Linked DNA regions of Homo sapiens: all the other regions are linked to region 1. The links are contacts of gene promoters, found by promoter capture Hi-C in blood cells and fetal thymus (Javierre and others, 2016). All regions are on one chromosome and are shown on one strand. Each heading gives the region's core, a stretch centred on a gene start or on the middle of the fragment in contact. The rest is flanking DNA. Distances are from core to core; before and after follow the strand shown. Region 1 holds the start of CDR2 (cerebellar degeneration related protein 2). Region 2 holds the start of THUMPD1 (THUMP domain 1 NAT10 acetyltransferase adaptor). Region 3 holds the start of ACSM3 (acyl-CoA synthetase medium chain family member 3). Region 4 overlaps DCUN1D3 (defective in cullin neddylation 1 domain containing 3). Region 5 overlaps DCUN1D3 (defective in cullin neddylation 1 domain containing 3). Region 6 overlaps LYRM1 (LYR motif containing 1). Region 7 overlaps LDAF1 (lipid droplet assembly factor 1).

The links. The method cuts DNA at HindIII sites, captures the fragments that hold promoters and counts their contacts. A CHiCAGO score of 5 or more calls a contact.
Region 2: a contact is called between a fragment that was not itself captured here and the fragment with the promoter of CDR2 in region 1, in 1 of 17 cell types (fetal thymus). The highest score is 6.7, in fetal thymus.
Region 3: a contact is called between the fragment with the promoter of ACSM3 here and the fragment with the promoter of CDR2 in region 1, in 1 of 17 cell types (total B cells). The highest score is 8.2, in total B cells.
Region 4: a contact is called between a fragment that was not itself captured here and the fragment with the promoter of CDR2 in region 1, in 1 of 17 cell types (fetal thymus). The highest score is 9.6, in fetal thymus.
Region 5: a fragment that was not itself captured here is called in contact with the fragment with the promoter of CDR2 in region 1 in 3 of 17 cell types (fetal thymus, non-activated CD4 T cells and naive B cells); the score reaches 8.1 in fetal thymus.
Region 6: a contact is called between a fragment that was not itself captured here and the fragment with the promoter of CDR2 in region 1, in 1 of 17 cell types (erythroblasts). The highest score is 5.6, in erythroblasts.
Region 7: a contact is called between a fragment that was not itself captured here and the fragment with the promoter of CDR2 in region 1, in 5 of 17 cell types (erythroblasts, total B cells, fetal thymus and 2 more). The highest score is 17.2, in erythroblasts.

The regions. Positions count from the first base shown.
Region 1 is chr16:22,372,712-22,376,604 of GRCh38, reverse strand. CDR2 (cerebellar degeneration related protein 2) reads left to right here and starts at 1,986. Exons shown (of 5, transcript NM_001802.2): 1 at 1,986-2,374. The coding sequence starts at 2,296. CDR2-DT (CDR2 divergent transcript) reads right to left here and starts at 1,718. Exons shown (of 3, transcript NR_148970.1): 1 at 1,382-1,718; 2 at 1,045-1,278. RefSeq lists enhancers at 1,214-1,263, 1,604-1,683 and a silencer at 2,224-2,453. The HindIII fragment of the contact is 4,746 bases long and covers 1,135-3,893 here.
Region 2 is chr16:20,741,170-20,745,062 of GRCh38, reverse strand. THUMPD1 (THUMP domain 1 NAT10 acetyltransferase adaptor) reads left to right here and starts at 3,245. Exons shown (of 4, transcript NM_017736.5): 1 at 3,245-3,554. The coding sequence starts at 3,324. It also overlaps a transcript of ACSM3 not described here. RefSeq lists enhancers at 3,170-3,439, 3,450-3,499, 3,800-3,893. The HindIII fragment of the contact is 1,340 bases long and covers 1,040-2,379 here.
Region 3 is chr16:20,762,357-20,766,249 of GRCh38, reverse strand. It overlaps ACSM3 (acyl-CoA synthetase medium chain family member 3), which reads right to left and starts at 2,236. Exons shown (of 14, transcript NM_005622.4): 1 at 2,125-2,236. RefSeq lists an enhancer at 1,970-2,099. The HindIII fragment of the contact is 1,761 bases long and covers 635-2,395 here.
Region 4 is chr16:20,871,727-20,875,619 of GRCh38, reverse strand. The region is part of intron 1 of DCUN1D3 (defective in cullin neddylation 1 domain containing 3); the gene reads left to right. Among named protein-coding and RNA genes, the nearest start is that of DCUN1D3, 27 kb to the left of the region's middle. RefSeq lists a silencer at 1-41 and enhancers at 688-907, 1,158-1,257. The HindIII fragment of the contact is 2,955 bases long and covers 665-3,619 here.
Region 5 is chr16:20,892,683-20,896,575 of GRCh38, reverse strand. All of the region lies in intron 1 of DCUN1D3 (defective in cullin neddylation 1 domain containing 3), which reads left to right. Among named protein-coding and RNA genes, the nearest start is that of DCUN1D3, 5.7 kb to the left of the region's middle. The HindIII fragment of the contact is 204 bases long and covers 1,799-2,002 here.
Region 6 is chr16:20,917,321-20,921,213 of GRCh38, reverse strand. LYRM1 (LYR motif containing 1) reads right to left here. Exons shown (of 4, transcript NM_001128302.3): 3 at 1,000-1,092. Among named protein-coding and RNA genes, the nearest start is that of LYRM1, 18 kb to the right of the region's middle. The HindIII fragment of the contact is 1,378 bases long and covers 1,244-2,621 here.
Region 7 is chr16:21,160,767-21,164,659 of GRCh38, reverse strand. It overlaps LDAF1 (lipid droplet assembly factor 1), which reads right to left. Exons shown (of 5, transcript NM_001301771.2): 2 at 3,382-3,575. The coding sequence starts at 3,477. Among named protein-coding and RNA genes, the nearest start is that of LDAF1, 4.0 kb to the right of the region's middle. The HindIII fragment of the contact is 4,069 bases long and covers 34-3,893 here.

The DNA.
Region 1 (3,893 bases), core at 737-3,236:
CCCTTGTGCTTTCCACTCTATTCAGCAGTCTCCTTTAAGGACTGAAGGGTAAAACTTCAGGTAACAACTCCACAGTGGGAGGTCTTGTCCTTGGCAAGACTTCTCCAGAGTAGCCTACAGCCTATGTGTAAGGTAACCCTGGAGTCAAGTGCTGTTTGATACAGCATCAGCGTGAGGTTAGGTTATGCTGGTTTGAGCAAAGATGGGAGGCAGAGAGACACCCTGAATTTTATTACCCACAAGAATTATTCAGGATGAGTTTTTCCCCCCTTCCAAATTACCCAAGTCTTTTTTTATACAGAAAGACAAAAAAAGTAGCTTGAGTCTATAATTCCTTCCCTACAATTTCCCTTATTTTTAATGTGCAAGTAACTAAAAAAGCAAGATCACAGAAGGGTTTATAACAAAAAGCCAAAGTCCCCAGCCTCAAATCACTCCTCCTCTTAGGAAAACTTTTTTTTTTTGTTTGGTTTTTGAGACGCAGTTTTTGCCCAGGCTGGAGTGCAATGGCGCAATCTCGGCTCACTGCAACTTCCACCTCCCGGGTTTCAAGCAATTCTCCTGCCTCAGCCTTCCAAGTAGTTGGGATTACAGGCATGCGCCACCACGCCCAGCTAATTTTGTATTTTTAGTAGAGATGGGGTTTCTCCATGTTGGTCAGGCTGGCCTCGAACTCTCGACCTCAGGTGATCCGCCCGCCTCGGCCTCCCAAAATGCTGGGATTACAGGCGTGAGCCACCGTGTCCAGCCTCGGAAAACTCTTAATTGCTTCCCATTTTTAGTTCTGGCAGCTCTCTCCATATTTGTGGAAACTATTCATTGGATTATCAATGTAAGGTATTATCTGTCGACTCACTTCTAAAATAGATCAGGATTTAACACTCCTCTCCACCTCTTCCCTCTCTCTGAATTTCTAACAGTTTATTACCTCATGTTCTAGAGATAATCTTTCAATTGTATACTTAAACCTCGATTTTTTTTTGTTTCGTTGCTCAAAGTTAGTTAGATATTGGCCCTGTTGTCTTCCATCAGCTGCACCTTTACCTTTACGTCAAGGTTGAGAACATTGACCTTCAGGTCTGTCATCCTGCTTAAGAGTTTCCGTGCTTTGTCTGCAAGATGGTGCTTAAAGCTTTACCTAGGAGCAGTATTTGCTGGGTTATGTCGGTGGAGGACAGCGTGCTCTGCCTCGCTGGCTACTAAGTGCTGGAGCTGCAGCCTGTCCCCTCCAGGTGCAATGTCACGTCCCCAGATGCTTAACTTGTGGTCTAGGGGTACCTTTTAAAAATCGTTGCAACACTGCTTACAATTTTCGCCCTCCAAGTGGACAGCTTCGGGCATCCCTCACCGCCCCAGATTCTCAAGGGGGTCTGGTGCCCACCGTTTTATGTAGCGTGAGTTTAATTCCCAGGGCTCAGATGTCAAGGAGACAAGAGCTACCGCTCAGTGGGCGTTTTCTCAACCCAAACTCCCGATCGACCTCGAGTCTCCCCGCCGGACCCGGAGCAAATCTCAGAGTCAAGATGCGAGAAGGGGTGGCCGGGCGGCGGACCTCAGGCTTCCGGCACCCTTGCGCTTCCCGCCGGCACGAAGGACTCCCCTGGACAACCGCCCGCCTCTCAGAGGCCGGAGTCCTAGGCCCTCCGGCCTGCGTTGCCTGTCCACAGACGCGCCGGCCTCGGGACACCCACCACAGGGGTAAGACGCGCCTCTGCCAGCTCCCCAGCCCGAAACCCAGAACGCCCTCCTAGGAGCCTCACAGCGCAGATCAGGGGACGGGCTTTCGGCCGCACCCCTTCACTCTTTCCCCGCCTTCTTTGTTTATTCCGGACCCACCATTGGCTGCTTGCCCTCGATACCGGGCGAGCCGCCGGTCTTTGGAGAGAGGCGATTGGACGAAGTCCCTGCCGCTCGGCCAGCAGCCCGCTCGCGATTGGTTGAGGCGCCGCCGGGGGTTTGAATCGCATCCCCGGCCGGGGAGGGTTCTGCCAAAGTGCCACGTTGGGCCCGGCGGCGGCGTGAAGACTGGCGGCTGCGTGAGACTCCGGCTCCAGGCGTTCGCACCGTAATGCCCGGCCGTTGGGGCCGTCGGTAGGCGCGAGGCGAGTCGAGGCAGCCGGCCGGTCGGCGGCCGCCGGCGGGAACGGGGCTGAGGCGGCGCAGCGGAGTCTGGGCGGCGGCGCGTCCCGCCCGAGGGCGGCTCTGGCTGAGGGCGGAGGGGCCGGGGAAGAGCCCGGGGCAGCGGCTGAGGCGGGACGGCGGCGGGGGCCGCTGCCCCTAGAAGACCCAGCCGAGATGCTGGCGGAAAACCTGGTAGAGGAGTTTGAGATGAAGGAGGACGAGCCGTGGTACGACCACCAGGACCTCCAGCAAGGTGAGGGCGGGGGCGCCCCGCGGGCGGGCGGCGGCCTGGCCCGGGAGGCCCCCGCTGCGAAACTGTTAAAAAGTTGCTTTTTGTGGCGGCGGAGGATGCAGGTGCCGGGAAGGGCTCAGGCTCACCTGGCGGCTGGGCCGGCCGTGCCCGCGGATCCCGCCCGCAGGAAGCCTCGGCACGGGGCCCACGGCCTTGCTAATGCGCAGTTGAATATCAGCCCCGAGGCGCGTGGGGGCCAGGGACGAGCCAGGCACCGTTTTAAGCGCTTTCCGTGGATTAGCTAGTTTAATCCTCACTGCATTCCTCCGAGGCAGACCCGGGTGAGCCAGTGTGTCCCGCAGTAAGTGGCATAGCCCGAGAAGCCGCCCCGTCGCAGGCTGTCTAGCCCAGCGCCTTTCATGGCCAGCGTGGAGGGCCGGCTGCTGCAGGTGGTAGTTGTTTTGCGGCGTAGCGGGAGCTGTGCGCTCCGCACCGTAACTCCAGGAGACAGTAACTTTTTAAAAATTAATGTTTGAGGGTACATGGTAGGTGTATATATTTGTGGGGTACATGAGATGTTTGGATACAGGCACGCAGTGTGAAATAAGCACGTGATGGAGAACGGGGCGTCCATCCCAGCATTTATCCATTGAGGTACAAACAATCCAATTACACACTTTTGTTATCCCATTTTCCATATGAGGAAAGCGGAGATTAAAACGGTAAAGTGGCTTGCCTAAAGCTAAGTGTGGGAGGGAGTGTTTTTTGAACCCACACACTCAGAAGAAGAGTTGTAGTCACTGCTCAAACCCCATCTCTTCCTTACCATCCTAGTTTACAGTTTTTTTCAGTTGGGCGTTAAGCTGTTAGGCATAGTTCACCAGATGCCAATTGAAACGACAGAAGAAAGAGCGCATCTATCTCTGCCACTTTTCTTCAGTTTGCACGCCAGCTTTCACTTAGAAACAGGCCTGCCGATGGTGTCTCCAGAGAACAATCGTAGAGTAGCCCACTCTTTGGGGCCAGTGGGGCCCCTGTTTTTCTTATACTAATAGCAGGAGCTAGCAGTTGGGGAACACTTTTTATGTGCCTAACACTGATAGGCCCATAACACAGTTGCTCATTTAATTCTCCCAGTAACACAATAGAGGTAGTAATGTTGGGGAGTGCTAGGGTTCTCCTTAAGACTCCAGAGCAAACGTTCTTAACCGCTATACTGAGTACTGAACAATCCTCAGGAATTTTTCCAGGCATCTTCAGTTTCTGCAATTCTGTGTAAATGCTCTCAGCTCTAATCTTGCAATGAAAATTAACATCTCATTTAGTTGAATATTAAATGATCATGTTGCTTGTTCATGCTAACCACTGAACATGGCAGAAGAAAAGAATGTAGACCTGAATAACTCAGAAAAGGAAAATAAAATGAGCACCTCTTTTGGAGGAAGATAATTTCTTAAATTAACATGCAATCACTTTAACCAAAGTAATTCACCTTTATTACACTTACAGAGTCCAAGCTACTTAGTGGTTGCAGTGCAGT
Region 2 (3,893 bases), core at 460-2,959, 1.6 Mb after region 1:
GACGCAGCCCCGGCAGCTGCCACAGGATGAGTGTGTGATTTAGATAACTAACGTCTAGACTGAGAGCTACAGGGTTGCATATTTTTCTCACTTCATTGGATATTCTCTGCACAGTCAGCAACCATGAAATACAATAAACTGTTAAAAAACTTTAGACAAATTAAATTTAACAGAATTAAATTGCACAAGGAAGGATTCTCAAATCAGGCAGGCCCCTGACCCACTAACCGGAATAGGTTTAGAGACATCCTGGTGCTGCCACATGGTCAGAGATGATTTATGGACATAAAAAGAAAAGTGAGGTGCAGGAAATGGAAGTAAGGTACAGAAACAGCCCAATAGGTTACAACTCAGTATTTGCCTTATTTAAACGTGGTTTGGCTGGGCGCAGTGGCTCATGCCTGTAATCCCAGCACTTTGGGAGGCGAAGTGGGCAGATCTCTTGAGGTCAGGAGTTCAAGATCAGCCTGGCCAACATGGTGAAACCCCATATCTACTAAAAATACAAAAATTAGTTGGCCGTGGTGGCATGCACAGGTAATCCCAGCTACTTGGGAGGCTGAGGCAGGAGAATCGCTTGAACCCAGTAAGTGGACGTTGCAGTGAGCCGAGACTGCACCAGTGCACTCCATCCTGTGCGACAGCAAGACTCCGTCTCAAAAAACATAAAAATAAAAAACATGGTTTGAACAATCAGCCACCTGTGAGTGGTTGAGCATGGCTTCTGTGCTTGGCTGAGATTTGGCTACTTGTTACAACAGCCATTACAGTCTGTTTACACATCCAATTAGGTTATAGTTCACTATGTATGGAGAAACCTGTAGGCCAGGGATGTCCAATCTTTTGGCTTCCTTGGAAGAAGAATCCTCTTGGGCCACCCATAAAATATACTAATGCTAACAATAGCAGATGAATTTTTTTTAATTGCAGAAAAACCTCAGAGTGTTTTAAGAAAGTTTATTAATTTGTGTTGGGCCGGTTGAATTTCAAAGCTGTCCTGGGCCACATGTTGACTGTGGGCCAACAGGTTGGACAAGCTTGATTTAGGCCAAACTTAAATTTAGCCTAAAGCTGCCTCCTCACATATTTTAACAAAACTGAGTTTTTGTTTTTCAAGTTTGCCTCCATATAGTACTCAAATATGCTTGGGACTTGAAATATATATATTTTAACTTGTTATCTGTATGCTAATATTTGATATCCTAAGGACAGGTGGCAGAGTGTGGGCAACTGAAACCCAGCCAGCAGAAGAGAGAGAGATTTGGGGGAAGGCCAATGCCAGTGTCATGACACTGCTCTTCACAAACAACTGAGGACTTCTAGAAATCTCTGCTGTGCAGTGTCCACCAAAGAAATTCTGAAAATTAAATGCTGTATTGAATACACAGGTAAAAGCAAACAATAAGATGATAAAATTTTTGGACATAGTGGTAGATCTGGGGTTAGAACCTAGGGTTTATTGACTGTGAATTCGGTGTCCCTTTCAAAATATCAGATTACATCTTTTAGGGCTTTGTAGGAACTCAAATCTGCTAAGAGGTTTGTACCTGAAGAGTAGTATGAGAAGCACTTGTTTTTTAAACACATTCTTCAAAAGTGGCATCTTCAATGATTTTTAAAAAGACAGTAACATGATAAGTTGCCAAGACTATGGATAAAAGGCCGCAACGAAAGCAGCATGAAACAACACCAGCCAACATCCTTGGTTTTAAGTGAAATAGAAACATAGCCTGGAAAATTGAGGCTGAAATGGAATTTACTGGAAGCCTTTTGAGTAACTGTTCTATGTGGGAAATGCGCGAGGGGAAAAAACAAGACAAAATACGGCCAGGCGCGGTGGCTCACGCCTGTAATCTCAGCACTTTGGGAGGCCGAGGCGGGTGGATCACGAGGTCAGGAGATTGAGACCATCCTGACTGACACGGTAAAACCCCGTCTCTACTAAAAATAAAAAATATTAGCCGGGCGTGGTGGCGGGCGCCTGTAGTCCCAGCTACTCGGGAGGGAGGCAGGAGAATGGGGTGAACCTGGGAGGCGGAGCTTGCAGTGAGCCCAGATCGCACCACTGCACTCCAGCCTGGGCGACAGAGCGAGACTCCATCTCAAAAAAAAAAAAAAAAAATAGACAAACATACAATACCTTTGGGGGTAAACAACCTTTATCCCACGTAAATGGCAATGCAGATATAATAAGCAAATGATATAGTAAGCAAATTGCAATGGGAAGGGGAGAAGGGAAAAAAAAAAAATATATATATATATATATATATTTACACGCACCAGACTATGTTGGATTCATCACCAGACCGGGAAGCAACAGCCTGGGCTCCAGAGTCAGCCACTTGTCCGTGCACAGAGGAGGAGGGGTCTCAAGAAGCTTCCGTGTGGCCTGGGACCCTGGCTCATTTTTTTTTTTTTTTTGAGACAGAGCCTCGCTTTGTTGCCAGGCTGGAGTGCAATGGCACGATCTCGGCTTACTGCAACCGCCGCTTCCCGAGTTCGAGTGATTCCCCTGCCTCAGCCTCCCGAGTAGTTGGGACTACAGGTGCGCGCCACCACGCCTGGCTAATTTTTTGCATTTTAGTAGAGATGTTGGTCAGGATGGTCTCCATCTCCTGACCTCGTGATCTGCCTGCCTTGGCCTCCCAAAGTGCTGGGATTACAGGCGTGAGCCACCGTGCCCGGCCGACCCTGGCTCTTTTTGTAATGCGTTGATTGGCATGAGGCCCAGTCACGAGGGCCCTTCTCGACTGGGCTCAAGGAACACATAAAGGTCAACTTGTTTCTGTGATTGTCTGTTTTTCAATAACTCAAGTACAGGTACAGAGTTATCTGTAACAGTGCTGGATGAATGAATGCCTCAAGGGGCTCATGCAACCTGTTACGGGACTTGACCATTGTGTCCACGTTCAATTGAGTTCAAATTTAATATTTAACTTTTCCTCCACAGTAGCTGGCAGAATTATAGGGAAGGCTGGAGGAACAGGTACCAAGGTTGGGTGGAAGAAGCTATATGGCTGGAGCCAGCTTCAAGGGCTTGAGGAGCCACCGACACCACTTCCAGAATGGCTGCTATGCTGCCTCTACTGGATTCAGGTTGCAGTCGGGAGGCGGGGCAGGAGGCGGGGCTTGGGCGGGTATCACTCCACCCCTTTCACGATTGCAGACCGGCCTTAGGACCTGGCGCAGCACGGAATGAGGCTTCGAGGCCGGCTAGGGGAGGCCGTCGCTCATATCCGACGTCACCAGTTCGCGCCGGCGATAGACGAGGACGCCAACAGCAGCGGAGAAACGTTTCTCTTTCCTCTCAGTTTGCGCACACCATGGCGGCCCCTGCCCAGCAGACTACTCAGCCTGGCGGCGGGAAGCGCAAAGGCAAGGCTCAGTATGTGCTGGCCAAGCGCGCTCGGCGCTGCGACGCTGGCGGGCCCCGTCAGCTAGAGCCCGGGCTACAGGGCATCCTCATCACCTGCAATATGAACGAGCGCAAGTGCGTGGAGGAGGCCTACAGCCTCCTCAACGAATACGGCGACGACATGTATGGGCCAGAAAAGGTACCGGTCCCGGGGTGGGCGGGCGGGCCGGCTGCCAGGCCTTGCGGGAGGAGGGAAGGGTGGAGGGATGGCTGCTGGTATGGGCATGCGCGCCTCGGGTCGTCGGCGTGACGGCTGTAGGGGCGTGGCCTCGCCGGCGTTTCCGTCCCTAGTCCTGAGACGCTCGCAGACTTCGGTGCTATCGGTTTTGTGCTTGAAGTGCTTGCACCTTTTCTTGCCATCAGTAACCACGGTAGCTCCCATTACTTTTATTTTTATTTTTGTGAGACAGGGTCTCGCTCTGTTGCCGAGGCTGGAGTGCAGTGGCGTGATGATAGCTCAGGGAAGCCTCGACTTCTC
Region 3 (3,893 bases), core at 987-3,486, 1.6 Mb after region 1:
AAAATGTTGAAACTATGTCTTCCAAAAGGAACGTCCTGATTCTTTCATTACTTGGATGTAAAAATGAATAGTATTTTTAAGTGGTTGTGAAGTATTAGAAACAATTTCTGATTCTATTAAATAAAAGGCAGGAATTTGGACAAATATCTTAAGGTCTTGAGCTTCATTCTTGGTAGGTTGGCATGATTCATTTATTTATTCAACAATTATTAATCACTTGCCATGAATTATTTCAGACATAGAGGATACAGGAGGGAATGCAAGAGACAAGGTCCTCCTTGCTCTCATAGAAAGACACATATAGTAAACAAGGGAATAAATAAATGTGATGTTACGCAAGAAAACAAAGAGAGTAATGGGAGAAAAGGGACCTTTTAGGAGGTCTCTCTAGGGACGTAACATTTTTGCTGAGATCTGGCAAGTGGTTGTACTGTTAAGCATTTTGCAGTTATTTATTAGTATTTTCATTTTACAGACAAGGAAGTATACACAAACAGACACACATATTTAAATTGGACAACGCATTTATTCATTACCCGTGTATTTATTGAACACTTGGTATATGCCAGACCTGTACTAAATGCTGAAAATATAGCTGTGAACAAGACACGGCTGGTCTTGCTCCCATGAAGCTTATAGACTATTAAGGAAGACATTAAATAATTATGTAAATATTAATATGATTGGAGATAAATATATCATACTTAGCTTGCTGATTCTGAATAGAATCAGAGTTTAGTATGATTTGTTCCCTAGCTCCCATACAATACTCTACACCACATTCAGAATCCTTCAAACGTATGTTGAAAAGAAAATTGATCAGTCATTTGGAGCTTAAAATGAACCTAACCATTCTGTTCTACCAAAAAGCAAATATCGACATCCTCTTCATCAAAACCATAAGATTACCTTCTCCTCAACAAAGTTCTTTTCCTCCCTTTTCATCGATCTTAGCATTTTACAACTTCTATTTCCCAGGTTTATAAAATTATTTGTAGGTAAAATTGCTGAGATAACTTTCCCAGGGTGACTCCAGATTTTTATACTGAGCCACAGAAACATTGGTAAGGAAAACTCTTCTAAGAAAGACAGTACCACCCCTGGTCAGATAGGCTTCTGAAAGTATTTAAGGTCTCATCTGAAATGCAAGCTCTTTGTCCCTACAGCCAAGGGGGCTTTAGCCTCCCCACAGCTCCCTAAACATCCCTCCCTCTAAGTATCCAAGTAATAACAGTAGTTTAACATATACAGCCTCAACGCAAGGTAAATTCACTGCTGTTGTCTCCAAACCCAACCAGACCCTGCCTGAAGCCCCTCCTATACAGAACTTTTGCAGCTGCCCTTGACCACCTAAAGGAGAAAACTGGCTGCTCTTAGGTTTGCATCTGTGTTTCCCAAAGTTTCCTGGAAGTAATTTACATACTTTCTGGATGATGCAGAAGATGGATTCCCATCTGTCACTGAGCAAGGTGGGGAGCTAAGCAGACAGTACAATGAAAATCTCAGCCACTACCTGGTCTTTTTTTTGAGATGGAGTCTTGTTCTGTCACCCAGGCTGGAGTGCAGTGATGCAATCTCAGCTTACTGCAAACTCCACCTCCCAGGTTCAAGTGACTCTACTGCCTCAGGCTCCCAAGTAGCTGGGGTTACAGGCACCTGCCACCACACCTGGCTAATTTTTTATTTTCAGTAGAGATAGGGTTTCACCATGTTGGCCAAGCTGGTCTCGAACTCCTGGCCTCAAGTGATCTGCATCTGCCCACCATAGCCTCCTAAAGTGGTGGGATTACAGGCTTGAGCCACCGCATCTGGTTCAATTAAAATTAAAAAAAAAATTTATCAACTTAATACATGTACATAGTTTTTCAAAAAATCAAATAGCACCAAAAGGCTCAACATGAAAACTCAGCTGCTACATTTATAGCCTTTTGTGTGTGCATACTCCTCATCACTTAATAGATAGTATCACACAACTGAGAAATTCTGAGAGAAACTTTGGCTGCCCAAGACTTTAATGACAGCATTTTTGATTGTTGGTTTTGTTCATCTGTTTGTTATCTTTGCTCAAAAAACAGATGTGCCAGTTCAGGAAATCTTACACAGGAGGGGAGATGAGGTACTCACTAGTTAACAGATTCCAACACAGATGGAGATTATGGCAGACTTGTTTCTTAGAAGAGCAGCCCTGAACCTTGAGTTCTCACATCTGCTTTTTCCTCGTGGCAGTCTAAAGAAGAGGGAGGAGCAGTCTGACAATCCGGAGGAGCAAGACTGGCCCAAAACACTTTCCTTGATTGGTGGAGACATTCTGGAGGAGGAGCCAAGCTCTGGGCTAAAGTTTACAGGACTCCCAGCGGTTCCTCTTACAGGTAATGATTTACAGAAACAGCAAGCTTTTGAGGGGCGGAGAAAGCAAATTATTAACAAGAAGGAAAGTGTCCAAGGAGTTGCCGAAGTGGTTAGTTCTGTAAAGGGGCAGAGAGAGCACTTCTCAGAAGGAAGAACAGATGGAGGAAGCCATAGAGGAGTTTTGAAATTGAAAGGAAAGAAGTTGAGGGGCGGTTATGGGTTGGCCTAAATCTCATCAAGCCCATTGGTGCGTTTATCTGTCGAAGTGGCAGGACTAAACATAAACGCTATCAGGTTACTCCCCTGCTCAAATCTTTCAGTGCTTCTTTTTCCACTCCAGGTAAAATCCGAGTCCTTACATGAACTGCAAGGAGTTGTATGATCTGGCACAGGGTCCTCTGATCCACAGCCCATTCTCCTTCCTCTGCCTCACTCTGCACAGCCACCGGCCTCCTTGCTTTTTCTCAAACACACTTGCCTGTTTCAGCCTCAGGCTTTCTGAATTCACAGTTTCCACTGACTGGAACTCTTTCCTCAGATATCCCCCTGGCCAAATTCCTCATTTTCTGAGGTGTCTTATTAAATAACTCTTCCCTTACCTCATTTTCTAAAGTAGCACTCTTCATTTTTTCTCTTTTACCATTTTTTAACTTTTTACATCTCTTACTATCACCCTTGAGGGTAAGAACTCTTTTTGTTTGATGGTGTATCTATTGCCTGGAATAGCTACTGGCAAATTTTAGGCATTCAATAAATAGTTGATGGATATGTGAATAAATAAAGGACTCTTTCAATTACATGTGAGAGACCCAACTTTACTTAAAGAGGAATTTGTTGGTCACTTTTGAGTTCTAGGAGTCTTTTGTTGTTGATTCCTTGGGATTTTCTGTGTAATCACATTACCTGTAAATAAGTAAACAGATCTTACTTCTTTCTTTCAGATCTATATGCGTTTTATTTCCTTTTCTTGCCTTATTGCGCAGGCTAGAGTGTCTAGCTCTACGTTGAATAAGAGTGATGAGAGCAGACATCCTTGCCTTGCTTTTGATCTTAGAGGGAAAACATTCAGTCTTTCATGGTTAGGTACAATATTAGTAGTAGGTTTTGTGTAGATGCCCTTTATCAAGTTGAGGAAATTCTCCTCTATTTCTATTTTTTTCTGAGTGTTTTTATCATGAATAGGTGTTGAATTTTGGCAAGTGTTTTTTCTGCATCAGTTACTATAAGCATGTGGTGTTTTTCTTCTTTAGCCTGTTAATAAGATAGATTACACTGATCTTCTAATATTGAACCAGCCTTGCCTCCCTGGAATAAACCTTGCTTGGTCCTGTTGTATATTTCTTTTTCTGTATTGCTGAATTCTATAGTTATGTCTCTTGACAAATTTGAGAACTTTTCAGCTATTATTTCTTGGAGTAAATTTTTAGCCCCCATGTTAGATCTTTTATGATAGTTTCACAGGTCCCTGAGGCTCTGTTCTTTTTTTTCTTTTTTTTCCCATTCTAGTTTCTTTCTTTTGTTCAGGTTGAGTAAATTCTGGCTTC
Region 4 (3,893 bases), core at 893-3,392, 1.5 Mb after region 1:
TTTGTATATAGTGTGAGAGAGGGGATCTAGTTTTATTCTTCTGCATATAGTCATTTAGTTCACAGTGATTTGTTTTAGTTCCCGTTTTCAACTGAGAAGACTGAGATGGAATATGGTTAAGTGTGAGCTAGAGAGTTGGTAGAGCTGGGCTGTACAAACCTAGTCATTTTGCATCCAATGCATGTACTTTCCCTCCTGGAAGGCACATGACTATACTGGAGCAGCTGAAGGAGCTGCAATATCTGTGCAACTGGTTTTTGAGTGAGAGAATTGAATGTTGGTTGCAGAACAGTCAAGACACTGAACGCAATTCAGAAAAGTTGCATGTAATTTCATGGACCCCCTATTGTTGGATGCAACATTTGTGTGTGTGTGTGTGTGTGTGTGTGTGTGTGTGTGTGTGTGTGTGCATGAGCGCACGCAGTTTATTCTGGGGCCATAGTTGTCTTTGAGTCTTCAGACTTATTGATGACTGAAAGAACTTATGGTGCTGCTGCTTTATTTTATAAATTTTTTATGTTGTTTCTTAAAATAGGGCATAGCTGCTAGGGCAGGGTTTTAATAGACAGCATTGTGGTGGCCATTAGGTGGCAGCAATTTTGGCAGGTCATGTGGGTGGGAAGTGGGCAGGAACGAATCATCAGATGTCTTACTTTGCAAAGCTTGCAGTACCACAGTGCCTTCCAACAGGTATAGAGCTCCATTTTTAATTACCTGCTTATCTTTGCACATGTTAATGTACTCTGGGGCCTCATGCTACATGAGCATTTGTGAAAATAAGTAACTTAAAAAAAAAAATCAAAGCCTAAACCTTGGGGCCTCAAGTTTCAACCTGCAGAGAACGTATTCAAATAAAGATGTGCAAACATGAGCATTTCCTGTCAGTCTTTGAAACTTAAACACTTTCTTAATAGGCTCTTCGGCATGTAAAATCAAAGAGAAATTGTCTCAGTGATAGGAATTGAAACCAAGAGGGTAGCCAAGTTCAGGTTAGATTTGGGCTTTCAGTTTCATGGGATATGGTTTAGATCAAATACCTGTTTCAGCTGGAAGGTTGATCATGTTATTGTACAGAGAAAGACTTCTGAGAGATTTTTGCTTTCAGCCTTTCACATGGTGTCTGAATGCTGGGACGGGGTTCCTCTTTGGGAACAAGATGATGACAGCAAATATGTACACAATAGAATAAAGCTCCTGAAGTATTCTGTGGCATATCTACTTGAAGGAGGTCTAACGGTGTAAAAATTGCAATTGGAAAGATTCTTGTAGCCAGTTAGTCATACCATCTTTTAAATAGCATCCTACTGGTCCACGTAGTTATAATGGAATTTGACAGCTTTCATGAACTTGGGATCATTGGTCCTGTTGTTCAGCTAAGGGTCCTATGATATATTCGACTAGAAATTGTGGCCTAGTCAGTTGGTTCTGAACCATGAATCAGAACATCTGGCAATTAGATCTTCTCTCTCTTTGCTCTCTGAATAGAAGAGATCTGAGTGACATAGCTGTGTCTTGGTAGGGACTCTTTCAGTTGTGATAGAAAACCTGATATCTAACTTATGCAAAGGAGAGTTTGTTGGCTCACACCTGTGAAGTTCAGGCTTTGATCTTGACTCTAGGAACAGTTGGATTCAGGGTGTAAATAATGCCTTCAAAATTCAGTTTCCCTTTGTCTCTTCATACTGCTTTCCACTTGGTGATTTCATTTTTGGGTTCTACATGCATTTGAGCTGAGCCCCATGTGATAAACAGGGACCATTTAATCCTCACAGTGACCCCCTAGGCATTCTTATTTTCTCTGGTAGCTCTTTCTGGTAGCATCTCCAGCCTCCTGTATTTTCAGGGTTGAGATTCTGTCTGGCTGGCTTGTCATGGGCATATCCTGGGTCCAGTCATTAAAGCCAGGGGCATGTGAGGCCTTGGTGGGGCTGAGTCCCATAGTTCTTTATGAACCCCACCCAGCCATATGGCCGAGAGCGAGGGAAAAGGATCTGCTGGTGAAAATTGGGTAATCACCTGATGAAGAGCCTGGATGCTGGGAAGGCAGACACGTCTGCTACAAATCTGTCCTTTGACCCAGTCTGCAGCTTGACAGCCCATGTTAGTCTTCACACTAAATCCAGCCCATTGACCATTTCCAGGCATTCCACATTTCTCTTTTGAATGAGCCTCTTGCTCCCTGGGAATGTGAATCACTCAATCCATGGGCCAGACCCTTCTACCCCTGATGTTAAACCTTTGATAAGGGGACTGTTACTCATTAGACCTTAAGATGGTCATCATCTTTGTCCTCTTCTTTTCCTTGGAGGGAGTGTGAGGAGGAAGTTGATCTTCTTTTGAAAGAATAAATTGAGGAAATTTAGATATAAGTGAAAGATGTCTTTAGGATTAAGCTGCTTTTCTCCCCATTCCCCCATCATTTAAAAACACTTCCTTAAAATCCCTGGAGCCAGAATCACTGGATCATTGGATTGGTTAGTTGTTTTTTTTTTTTTTTTTGAGACAGAGTCTCGCTCTGTAGCCCAGGCTGGAGTGCAGTGGCACAGTCTTCCTCACTGCTACCTCTGCCTCCCAGGTCCCACTTCAAGCAGTTCTCCTGCCTCAGGTTCCCAAGTAGCTGGGATTACAGGCATGTGCCACCATGCCCAGCTAATTTTTGTATTTTTAGTAGAGACGGGGTTTCACCATGTTGGCCAGGCTGGTCTTGAACTCCTGACCTCGTGATCCACCTGCCTTGGCCTCCCAAAGTGCTGGGATTGCAGGCGTGAGCCACTGCGCCTAGCCTGGTTAGCCTTTTTGATGTGATTCGCAGTGAAGCAAGACTGAAAGGATATACTCCAAAATATTAACCGTAGGTGGTGAAATTAGTGATTGGCTTTTTTTTTCTTTATGCCTCTCTGTACTTTCTAAACTTCACAAAATAATTATGTAATACTTTTGAATTTGCCAGCAGGAAAGAGAGTCTAGTGACCTCACTTTTCTGACCAGGTTACTGATGTGGTTGAAAGCAGGAATTCTTTTATTGTGTGGATCTTTTCTGTCCCTCTTCCTCTTCCTGTCTGCTATGCATTAGCAGTCAACCTCCATCGTGGGGAAAAAGCTGATAAATGTGGTCTTAATGGATTTAGATTTTTTTTTTTTTTTTTAAGAATTAGCAAACATTAAGAGGTTGATTGGTTACCACGTGGTGAACCTGAGGCCTACTTAGAGGCCTTTGGCTCCCGAAACCACATATCTACATTTGTGGTCATCCAGGTGCCCTTTAAGACATTTGGATGCAGTCATTTATCATCTGTATGTTGTGTTCCTTCGTCGTCTTTGGACTCATTTCATAATTTCCTTTCTTGCCTTTTACTTAGATGCAAAAATCTAACCTTATCTCCAGTTCACTAATTTTCAGTGAGTTGCTGACTCCCAAGTTCTCAGAAGGTGATTGAAAAATGAGCAGTTGATGTGGTAATTGGGTGTTTTGAGGACTAATCAGCTACAATCAGGTAAACCTCCAGGGTGGCTGATAACCATATGCTGACTGGAAGGAGGGTATTAGTGCTAATCAGTGGTTTACTTTCAGTGGGCTCTACTGAGGCTCCATCCTAAGGAATAAAACAAGCTGCAAGCTTATAACGGAGATGAAGAGTGCAGCAGGCATGCCGTTTTTATTAGAGTTAAGGTTCAGTACAAATCCAGGATGGCTTTCTGGTTTTAAACAGGGAAAGTCACTGGAAAAGCTGGTGTGAAAACAAAGAATGACCTAGAAATTTGGTGCCCATTTATGATGCTCCCCCTTGCACATAAGTGGGTAGTTAGAAATGCCCAGATCAATAGTGACAGCAAAAAATATTTCAAGTATGGGTCAGTGAAATGATATAGCCCTTTTTTGGTTATTTTGAGTT
Region 5 (3,893 bases), core at 651-3,150, 1.5 Mb after region 1:
GGCTCTTTTCTAATTTTTGAAAGGGGGCGGGTGGGTAGGAGGGGACTTGAACACAAGGAGAAGCCATTGTCTCCTACATTGGCTACTAATTGTGTTTGGGGAAAGAATCCACAAATTTAAGTGGATTGGATTTTCGGAGCTGAGCTGGCCTTTTAATTTAGGGTACCAGTGGATTTATTTCTTACACTTTGCAGGCTTTTGGACAAACTCTTCTGAAAGGTGGGCAACCTAGAAAGCCAGTTGATGCCACTTGCTATTGGAGTTGTGGGTAAGTGGTTTTACATTGCATTACACGACTAAAAGGTAATCAGATTTTGCTACTGTTTTGGTGTACAGATGCTCTTTGATTTACAGTGGGGTTACCTTTTATAACCCCATCATAAGTTGAAAATATTGTTAGTAAAAAAATGCATTTAATATACCTCACCTACCGAACATCATAGCTTAGCCTAGCCTACCTTAAACATGCCAAGAACCTGCATGTTTGGCATGTTTGGCAAATGCATCTAATGAGCCTATTTTATAATAAAATATTGAATATCTCATGTAATTTATTGAGTGAATACTGGAAGTGAAAAACAGAATGGTTGTGTAAGTACTTGAAGTAGTCTGGGACTGTCTATGTGCTGAAGTAAGGACATTTAATTGTGCAGTAGTTGCCAGTTGTTTTGAGGTGAAGAAGTGGTAACTTAGATTGAAACAATGGTAATGACGTGGTAACTCCTGTTTTCCCGGGTCTTGATAACTTAAAATTATCTCTTTGTGTCTGTTTAGACTGTTCTGGAGCTCTTTGCACAATGGACCAGGGTTAATTGAGTTAGTGTCTTTCAGTTCAAATCTAGTTTCACTAGTTCTTACGTCTGTGTTCCTAGATGATGGTGAATCCTATTCTTTTGGGTGGTGAGAAGGGATTACCACAGAACTTGACCGTTTAATCAGTGAATAATTACAAACTAGAGCGTAACATATTTACATCCCCTTGGTATCCTGGGGGATTGGTTTTGGACCCCTTAGTTACCAAATTCACAAATGATCAAGACTTACATAAAGTGGTAGTATATGGGAAGGTGCAGGGAGTGGCGGTGATGCACATCTGTAGTCCCAGCTACTCAGGAGGCATTTCCAGATTACTTATAATGCCTAATACAGTTTGGGTGTGGTGGCTCATTCCTGTAATCCCAGCACGTTAGGAGGCTACTACAAATACCTGCCCCCTTTTTGTTTTATTATGTGGGAGGATTGCTTGGAGGCCAGGAGTTCAAGTCCAGCCTACGCAAGATAGTCAGGCCCTGTCTCTAAAAAAATTTAAAAAACTTAGCCAGGCATGGTGGTGCATGCCTGTAGTCCCAGCTACTGGGGTGGCTAAGGCAGGAGAATTGCTTGAACCCAGGAAGTTGAGGCTGTAGTAGCCGTGATGGAGCTGCTGCACTCCAGCCTAGGTGACAGAGCAAGACCCCATCTCAAAAACAACAGCCAAATACAATGTAAGTGGTATGTAAATAGTTGCTATGCTGTATTTTAAAAAATTCATATTATTTTTTATTGTTGTATTGTTATTAGGTTTTTTTTTTCCAAATATTTTTGACCCATGGTTGGTCGAATCTGCCAATGTAGAACCTATTGATACAGATGGCCAATTGCACTGAAAATGAAAGAAAAGATTGGAAGTGGCTCAAACTCTTATTCTTTGAAGTTGTGACATGTTGAAAGAAGAGAATGGCAGATAGGGAAATCATTTTCTTTAAGATGTGTGCAAATGAGACCTTCTTTAAATACCATACATCAGAACAGGGAAGCTTAGTAAATCAGTCTTGAGGTGGTGATTAGCTCTTGTGGCAAAATAAGTCACCTGTGCCCAGAGCCTGGATACCAGCCTGGTTGCATGCAAAGGCAGACATGTCAATGACTTCGTCTACCTTCCTGAGGGCTTGACCTTGTTCAAGAGTGTCCTTTGAGCTGTACTATATTGTTAGGCTTGGGATTGAATTGCCACACAGAAGCTTGGATTGCATAGTGTTGGGAAGCATCATCCCTGATCCTTTTGTGCCCTGCTCTGCTGGAGGGCTCAACCGCAGGACCTGGTGACTAGAAATAATTCTGTCACTTGGGCCTGCAGATTCATACCAGGTCTGATGACTGACTAAGAATCTCAGATAGCAGCAGTGTATAGTGTGGGACTCTTCATTTTTGAGACTGCTTAGCATCTCGGAGCCACTGCCCCTCTTTCTGCCTGTTGGGCCAAGAGAAAGTGTTGAAAAAACCTGCCCCTTTTTGATTTATTATGTATTCATTTATTTTTTGAGACAGAGTCTCAGGCTGGACTCAGTGGCCCAGGCTGGAATGCAGTGGCATGATCAAGGCTCACGGCAGCCTCGACCTCCCAGGCTCAAGCGATCCTCCTGTCTCAGCCCTCCTGAGTAGCTGGGACTACAGGCCTGCACCACCATGCACCACTAATTTATTGTATTTTTAATAGAGATGGGGTTTCGCTGTGTTGCCCAGGCTGGTCTCAGACTTCTCACCTCAAGTGATCTGCCTGCCTCGGCCTCCCAAAGTGCTGGGGTTACAGGCGTGAGCCACCACACCTGGCCTGCTCCTTTATTTTAGTAGCAGATTGTTTCCACACAAGCGGCAGAGTTGGGTTACAGCTTTTAGCTCTCTATCATTCATGATGGGTTTGAACTCTATGCAGTGTTTGCTTAAAGTGGATTAGTATGTGTCCTTTAATTTTGATTCTGAACGAGTCTCAAGTCATAGCATTACTACTTTGAATGCTGTTAATTCCCCTTCCTGAAGTTTAGGAGAAGCAGGAAAAAGTCAGACCCTTGCAGAATCTTAGCATATCTGGTGTTTATTTCAAGCTGGGCTTTGAGGAGCCCTCTCCGCCATTGTTGAAGTATGCTTGTGGCAGGGATGAGGGGGTTTTGCTGTTTTCCTTCTGTTTCACGTTACTACTTCAGTCTGTGAAAAGTTACTGTAATATTCTGTTATATTGGGCTACCCTATTAGATTCTAGTTGAATAAAATGTTCTGAGGCTGAAAACAGGTTGAAAAGTGGTTATTTTCAGTGGGAAAACAGAAATCAAGAAAAATAAGTAGGCCAGGCATGGTAATGCACTGCATGCGTGTAATCCCAGTACTTTGGGAGGCTTAGACGGGAGAATCTCTTGAGCCCAGGAGTTTGAGACCAGTCTGGGCAACACAGTGAGACCTCATTTTACAAGAAATAAGGGAAAGGAGCTGGGCGTGGTGGTGTGCACCTGTAGTGTCACCTGCTTGGGAGGCTGAGGCAGCAGGATCACTTGAGCCCAGAAGGTCAGGCTGCAGTGAGCTGAGATCGCACCACTGCACTGTAGCCTTGGTGACAGAGTGAGACCCTGTCTCATTTAAAAAAAAAAAAAAAGATGAGTAAATGCTTAAAGTTACAGAGCAAGCTCTAGGCAGCAGCAAGGCTAGAATCAGGCCTTCTCTGCACTAATTCTTGTTCTGTCTGTTGCACTGCATCTCTCAAACAAGTTGGTGTAGGCACCCGATAAAGTTTAATTGAATCCTTGGTGTTTGGACTCTGTGTTCTTGGGTTCTGTACTCAAACATTTTGTCACAAACTCTTCATCTTTCAAAGAAGACTCCCTATAGTGAAGCATATGTGAAGCGAGGTTATTAATGGTAGTGGGATGAGAGGCTTCTTAGTTTTAGTAGTGGTTGTGGATACTTGATAGAAAGCTGGGCTTTTTTCTTCAGAATAGTTCTGAAAGTGACCATATTACATTCAAATAGGAGTTGAGGCATTATCCCTGTAAGTTTTCTTTTTTTCCCCCCCAAACCAACCCCAAAATGGTCAGTGCACTGTAAGTTTTTCAGATAAGCAAGTGGGCCTGTTCTCGAACACCAGT
Region 6 (3,893 bases), core at 683-3,182, 1.5 Mb after region 1:
GGGAAGTGAGGTGGGAGAATCACTTTAGCCTGGGAGGTCAAGGCTGCAGTGGGCCATGACTGTACCACTGTACCTAGCTTGGGTGATGAAGCGAAGACTCAGTCTCCACAAATAAATAAATAAATAAAACTTCTTTTAAATTAAATTATTGTTTTAAATTTATGGTATGAAAGAATTTAAGAAAACATAAATTTATATACATTTATTATTTTAAATTCATATAAATTTGAAATTTATTTTGTTTCTTAACTTTCTGAATGTATTAAGTTTATATAATTTTTTTATTTTAAATTTATATATATAAATTTAAGTTTTATTTATTTTTTGAGACAGGGTCTCACTCTGTCACCCAGGCTGGAGCGCAGTGGTGTGATCATGGGTCACTGCTGCCTCAACCTCCTGGGCTGAAGCAATTCTCCCACCTCAGTTCCCCAAGTAGCTGGGAATACAGGAGTGTGTCACTATGCCTGGCTAATTTTTAAATTTTGTATAGCAATGGGGTCTCACTGTGTTGCCCAGGCTGGTCTCAAACTCCTAACCTCAAGTGATCCTCCTGCCTTGGCCTCCCAAAGTGCTAGGATTATAGGCATGAGCCGCAGTGCCTAGCCTGGATGAGAATTTTTGACCATTTTTACTTTCTACTTTATGCATTCCTTTCATGTTTGAACTTTATTCTTTTAGTAACAACAAACCTGCCTTTTATAATTAAACACATTTCCATAAAAAAGATGAAAGTGAAAAGAGAAAAAGCTCTACAGTGTGAGCTGGTTTTCCCTTCCATACGTGGAAAGCTATGTAAGCAGGATACGTCATGCATTCATTGACATTTTACTTTGTTGTGATGGGCTGGCAGCATGCAATGATAGCTTATTTCCAACATGCCTCCCACAGCAGCTCTGGGCTTCTCAGCAAGCACTCGCCCTCTTGTTACACATTCTTGGAAATAACCAGGTTGATGAGGGTAAGTACCCAGCACTTGTTAACCGGAGTCACACTTACTGGCCTTGGGTAAGGAATCTTGTAATGCAGTCCAATTTCAATCCTGGCTGTGCATTCATCTATACACTGTTTAATTAGGTCTGTGTCCGTGAGCTATTAAAAGGGAGAAAGAAATGAGGCTGATAGTATCTTTCTAATGGTACATAGAGTATAGGTATACATTTTCTCAAACTTTTTTAGTTCACTAGCCAGTAAATGAAATGTTACTAATTTGGAAAATCAAAAGCAATTTAATATTAAAGCTTACCATAAACTTTTAAAATCGTTAAAGTAGGTAAAAATAATTCAAATAATACAAAAGGATGTAACATAAGAACTACGTTTCCCTCTTACTCCTCTATTCCAGTTCCTCATCTCGGAGACAACAATTAGCAGTTTCTTGTGTGTTCTTGCAGGGGTATTCTATGTATATGTGAAAATGCACATGTATGTAGAAGCTGATTATTTTTCTCACACAAACAATAGCTCCCTTTGTTCTGAACCTTGCTTTTTCATGAACATAACTTGAGGTTCCTTCTATATTCTATCTATAGAGCTGCTCCCTTCTTTTTAACAGCTATATAAAATTCCAACAGAAGGCTTTATTATAATTTCACCAATCTCCTACCCATGGATAATTAAGTTATTTCCAATTTTTTGCTATTATAAATGATTCCGCTATGGATCTCTCTAAAATTACTTTGCTTACATGCATATGTATCTAAAAGATGAATTCCTAGAGAGAGAGGACTGCTAGGACAAAGGCATAGATTCATGCATTTTTAATTCTCACAGATATTCCCAGATTACTCTCTAGAGTTCACACCAATTTACATTCCTACCAACAATCTATAAATTATATTCTCACCGACACTGACTGAGAGTGCTTCTTCACACCCCCCTCATGTTGATTAAACTTTAAAGTAACCCCATGGTTTCTGCAAGTGCTGTCCTGAAACCCCCAGAGTAGGACACTGGAGAATGATCTACACCTCTTAAACTGTCAACTGCCTTGGCTCATTAGTAAGGGGAACAAAGGGCTTTTGAAATTCCAAAATAGTCAAATCATGGTAATCCACTCTCAATTAAAGGAATAAAAAGTTCATTCTGAAAAACAGCCAAGTAGGAAAAAGGGAGAAACTCTTTCATTATGAGGTAGGAAAATGAATCAAGACGTGGCTCTGCTAGGAGTTTGCAAGTGGACTTCAAAGCTGAGCTAGGATTGCATCAGCACCAGATGACACCCACGCAGCAAAGTCTGGGTCCATGTGGCTTGGAAATTTCAAGGGCGTTCCTGTCCTATGGTACCTCTTGGAGCAGAGAAGAGTTCCAGGAACAGCAATGCAGAGAACCACAGCTGTGAGTCCCTTGTGGCAGAGGCCCAACTTTCTGACCTCTGTGCTTCTCAGAAGCCACTGATTTGCTGTCTGTGTTGGAAAAGAGTTCCATGTTCCCATTTGCCCACTGAGATTCAGAGCAGTTCATGGGATACCTTTGGATTATTAAACTCTTAAGAGTAATCAAAGTTACAAGAAACTCATTATGTCTGCATGAGGGACTAGGAAGAAAGAAAAAGCCCTTGACAAAGATATGGTTAAGGGGGTTGGGGCTTCTGGGGCTTCAGCTGTCTATCTGAACAAGCTTGGGCTACAGTACTCCAAATTCAGTCATTCACGGGCTGGCTGCATGATTCTGCCATATCCACATACTACTTATACTAATGTTAAAATTTTTCATTAAATGGACTCTCTTAAGCAATAGCATTTGTGAAACTGTGGTCTAATATTCTCTGTCCTTTATAACACATGCTAAAGCAAGTACGTATCTTAAAATTAAGAACCCATGTACCTCTTCCGCCCACTCCCAAATAATCTCATGTACCATCAGTGGCACATACACCTCCCTCTGGCTCACTCCTCGAGCCAATCCAAGCCGAGGCAAAGGAAGGGTTATTGCGATAACTGAAAACCGAAACTCTTGAGTAGTCTTCAGGTGAGTGAGCTTGCAAAGGTTTATTGGGCATGTACTATGATATCCCCAATACCGCAGGCTGGACAGTGCCTTCAACTATCAAAGTTATTACTTGGGCAGAACAACTCTGATACCTGAAGCTACAGAAAAGGCACAGTGGTATATAATCAATGGATGCAGTGACTGCTACAGACAGCTATAGGAATTCAGAACAGGCGGCCAGCATGGGGTTGAGGGGGAAGCAGAGAAACTGAGGAAGATTTCCTGGAGGAGGTCAGTTAAATCAAAGTATTTATAGCTGCTCATTCATTTAGTGACAACCACAAGGAGGTCCCTTGGGATATACTAGATAAGTATAAGAACGTGTCTATATGTTCAAGGAACTGATGATCTGGTTGGGAAAACCATGCCAACATAAATAAAATAAAGAAGAAAAAAGGAGAATATAAACAACTATTTAGGGATCTCCAAGCCTTTTGATCATCTACTCTTTTTTTGGTTTTTTTGGTGACAGAGTCTTCCTCTGTTGCCCAGGCTGGGGTGCAGTGGCATGATCTTGGCTCACTGTAACCTCTGCCTCCTGGGTTCAAGAAATTCTCGTGCCTCAGCCTCCTGAGTAGCTGGAACTACAGGTGTGCACCACCACACCCAGCTAATTTTTGTATTTTTAGTAGACAGGGTTTCACCATGTTGGCCAGGCTCATCTTAAACTTCTGACCTCAAGTGATCCACCAGCCTCAGCCTCCCAAAGTGTAAGGATTATAGGCGTGAGCCACCACACCTGGCCAATCACCTACTCTTTTCATTGAAATATTTCTGAGCCCACAGCCCCATATATGTATTTATATTAATTTATAAATGTATTAATTTATAAATTATATATATGTACTAACAAGTTCATTGTAACTGTGTACCAGACAGACTTTTTAGAAAGATGAAAGGAT
Region 7 (3,893 bases), core at 819-3,318, 1.2 Mb after region 1:
ACAACATTATGCGCCACCCTCTGTGCTAAAGCTTCAAACAGCATCTCAGATAATCTTCATAACAAACCTCTGAGCCTGACATTGCTCATTTTAGAAAAGAGGAGATGGCAGCTGGGCATGGTGGCTCACTTCTGTAATCCCAGCACTTCAGGAGGCCAAGGCAGGAGGACTGCTTGAGGCCAAGAGTTTGAGACCAGCCTGGGCAACACAGTGAAAGATGCTGTCTCTCCAAAAAATAAAATAAAACATTAGCTGAGTATGCTGGTGTGCACCTGTAGTCCCAGCTACTCAGGAGGCTGAGGCTGGAGGTGTTGCTTGAGACCAGAAGTTCGAGGCTACAGTAAGCCATGATCACACCACTATACTCCAGCCTGGAAGACAGAGTGAGACTCTGTCTCAATAAAAAATAAATAAAAAATTTTAAAAAAGGAGATGGAAATTCAGTGAGCCTAAGTGACTTGCCCAAGGTCAGACAAAGGCGGTTGGCTTCTAAACTAGGGACAAAGTGGCCAGTATTTGAGAACATGAAGACTGAAACTTGGATGATTCAGGAGCCAGGCAAATTCCCTGGTATCAGAATGCAAAAAACAATCAATGATTCATTATCTCTTCCTAACAGGAGAAAGACGAAGGGTCAGGACCATTTACAACCACTGGTGGCCAGGTGCGGTGGCTCACGCCTATAATCCCAGCACTTTGGGAGGCCGAAGTGGGTGGATTGCCTGAGGTCAGGAGTTGGAGATCAGCGTGGCCAAAATGGTGAGAAACCCCGTCTCTACTAAAAATACAAAAACAAACAAACAAAAAAGGCAGGTGAACGTGACTATTAACTAAGTTCAGACAGGGCCAGGGTGAATGCCTAGTGCAGTGCTTGGCATACAGTCAGTGCCAAGAAATATGCAGTCAATCCTTATTACTCATGATTCCATATTTGTAAATTTGCCTCCTCACTGAAATTTATTTGTAACCTCAAAATGAATACTGGCAGTGCTTTTTGTTTTGTTTTGTTTTGTCTGAGATAGAGTCTTGCTCTGTCACCCAGGCTGGAGTACAGTGGTGTGATCTTGGCTCCCTTCAACCTTCACCTCCTGGGTTCAAGCGATTCTCGTGCCTCAGCCTCCCAAGAGGCTAGGATTACAGGCGCACACCACCACACCCAGCTAATTTTTGTATTTTTCGTAGAGAAGGGGTTTCATCATGTTGGCCAGGCTGGTCTTGAACTTCTGGCTCAAGGGATCCACCCGCCTCGGCCTCCCAAAGTACTAGGATTACAGGTGTGAGCTACCACGCCTGGCCTGCAGTGCTTTTGAGGTCATTAGTGGACACGTCCACAACAGCAAAAAGTGGAGTCACCTGCCACGTACATTCCCAGCTGAGGTCAAGCAAGGTGACACCGAGCCTTCCTGTTTCATCCTTTAAACAAGTGTCACTGTGGTCTATTTAGTGCCACGTTTATGCTTTAGTTTGGTGATTTTACTGTTGAAAATGGTCCCCAAGTGTAGTGCTGAAGTGTTCTCTAGCGTTCCTAACCATGAGAAGGCTGTGATGTGCCTTATGCAGAAAATACATGTGTGTGATTAGCTTTGTTTAAGACATGAGTCATAGTACTGTTGTTGGCCCTGAGTTCAACGTTAATGATCAACAATATATATTAACATGTCTTTAAACAGAAATACACATAAAACGAGGTTATGTACTGATCAGCTGACAAAAATGTTGTGAACAGGAGGCTCACAGCAACTGAATCCTGTATTTCCCCTAGGAGCGATGGTTTGGTATGTGCTAATTCAGTGTCTGCAGTAACTTTATAGAACGTAACTACCATGGTTAATGAGAATCAGCTGTAAATGTGGAACAGGCAGGAGGACCCTTCTTACTGAGCTAACTTTTAATAACAAGAGTCCCCGCCAGCTGGCGAGAAAGCTGCTTGTCCAATTTAAAAATAGCTTGGTAAATCCACAAAGAGTGCCAAATAAATTCTGGAGCAAGTCCAGAATTTATTGTTGTAGATTGCAAACAAGCATCTCTTCGAGTAGACCCGCTGTGCTATCCAATACAAAAAAAAATACACCACAAAATAGTTCATTTTGTTACATATACATATGTATTTTTATAGGTATATTGCATAGAAAAAAGGTCTAGAATGACATACAAAATGTTAACAGTATTATCTCTGAAAGCTGTTTTCTTTTCCCTGACAAAATGCTGAAAGACATATAGAAGAAAGCAATAAGGATAAATATGCAAGAAAACATAACGCTATCTGAAGTCTCATTGCCACTGAGTGGCCACTGAATACCTAAAAAGTGGCTAACTCGAATTGAAATGTGCTAGAAGTGTAAAATATGCGCACGGGGGGTTTTGAAGAGGGAGTTCAAAAAAGAAGGTACAATGTTTCAAGAATCTTTTTTCATTAATAATTTTGTATAAATGATTACATGTTGAAATATTTTTGATATCTTAGGTTGAATAAAAACATTATTAAAAATAATTTTTTTTTTTTGGAGACGGAATCTCGCTCTGTCGCCCAGGCTGGAGTGCGGTGGCACAATCTCAGCTCACTGCAACCTCCGCCTCCTGGGTTCAAGTGATTCTCCTGCCTCAGCCTCCCGAGTAGCTGGGACTACAGGCCTTACCACCACACCTGCTCATTTTGGTAATTTTAGTAGAGATGGGGTTTTACCATGTTCGCCAGGCTGATCTCGAACTTCTGATCTCAAGTGATCCACCCACCTCAGCCTCCCAAAGTGCTAGGATCACAGGCGGGAGCCACTATGCCCAGCCAAAATTAATTTTACCTATTTCTTTTTACTTCTTACATGTGGCTACTAGAAAAATTCTAAATTACATACGTGACTCACATCATATTTCTATCGGACCTGGATTCCTAGTGGAACAATGAACTCAAATCTTGAAGTAGGCTTTTGTCTCTCATTTTCAGGGTAACAGATAGGGCAAAATTCACAACAAAACCAAACAAAACCAAAAAAAGGATGATATCTGTTGCACAGACTTCTTTATCCAGCTAAAGAATTGCATTTGCCATTAGTGGCAAATGACTCAATGTTGGCTTAAGGGATGTAATTGGAAGTATTGTGTGCGACTCCCAGAAGTCTCCTTAAATTGTAGGTGGCTTGCACTTCTCTCTTCCCCCCTCCTCAAATCCTGTTGCCTGAAAGATGGATACAATGGCTGATGCTCTTGCAGTCATCTCAGACAAGGAGTTTGAAGGTCACAGCATAGACATGGCAGGGCGGTAAGCCAGAAAGATTCTTGACTTACCTCCAAATTCCTTCTACTGGAGAAAGAAATAACTTTCTATCTTGTTTATGCTAGTGTTATATTGGGATTTTCCATTATACATAGTGATTGGAAACTGACCTTTGAGTTATTCTGGAAGGAGTCTATCAGCAGAGACAGCTTCTTCTGCAGTTCCTGCAAGTCCCTTGAGATACTCTGGGGCTCCTCTTTTGCCATTCTGAAGCTCACTTCAATCTCTTTAGGGATGAATTATCCTACCAGTAAATTCTCCAGTGCAGCCCGCGGTCCAATCTCTCATGTCGCTCTGTCTCTTGCTGTTACCAGAGGAAACAAAAGCCGTTAGTGGTCTTCATCCATCTGGTTCGACGAGAGCTTCTACCATCCTCATACCTTGATGGTGGGCATGCAGACGGAGGGTAACCTGGCAATATTCACAACAATTTCAGATTGCACACACTTCAATCCAGGAATTTATATTCCAGGAACATGATGGAAATAATCCAACAGGTATCTCAAAATGTACTAAAAGGCTGTGCATTGCATCCCTGTTTATAACATATAATGACTAGCAAAACATTGGAAAGTAGCTAACTGTATTTCCATTAGGAGAAAATTGGTTAAATAATGATAAA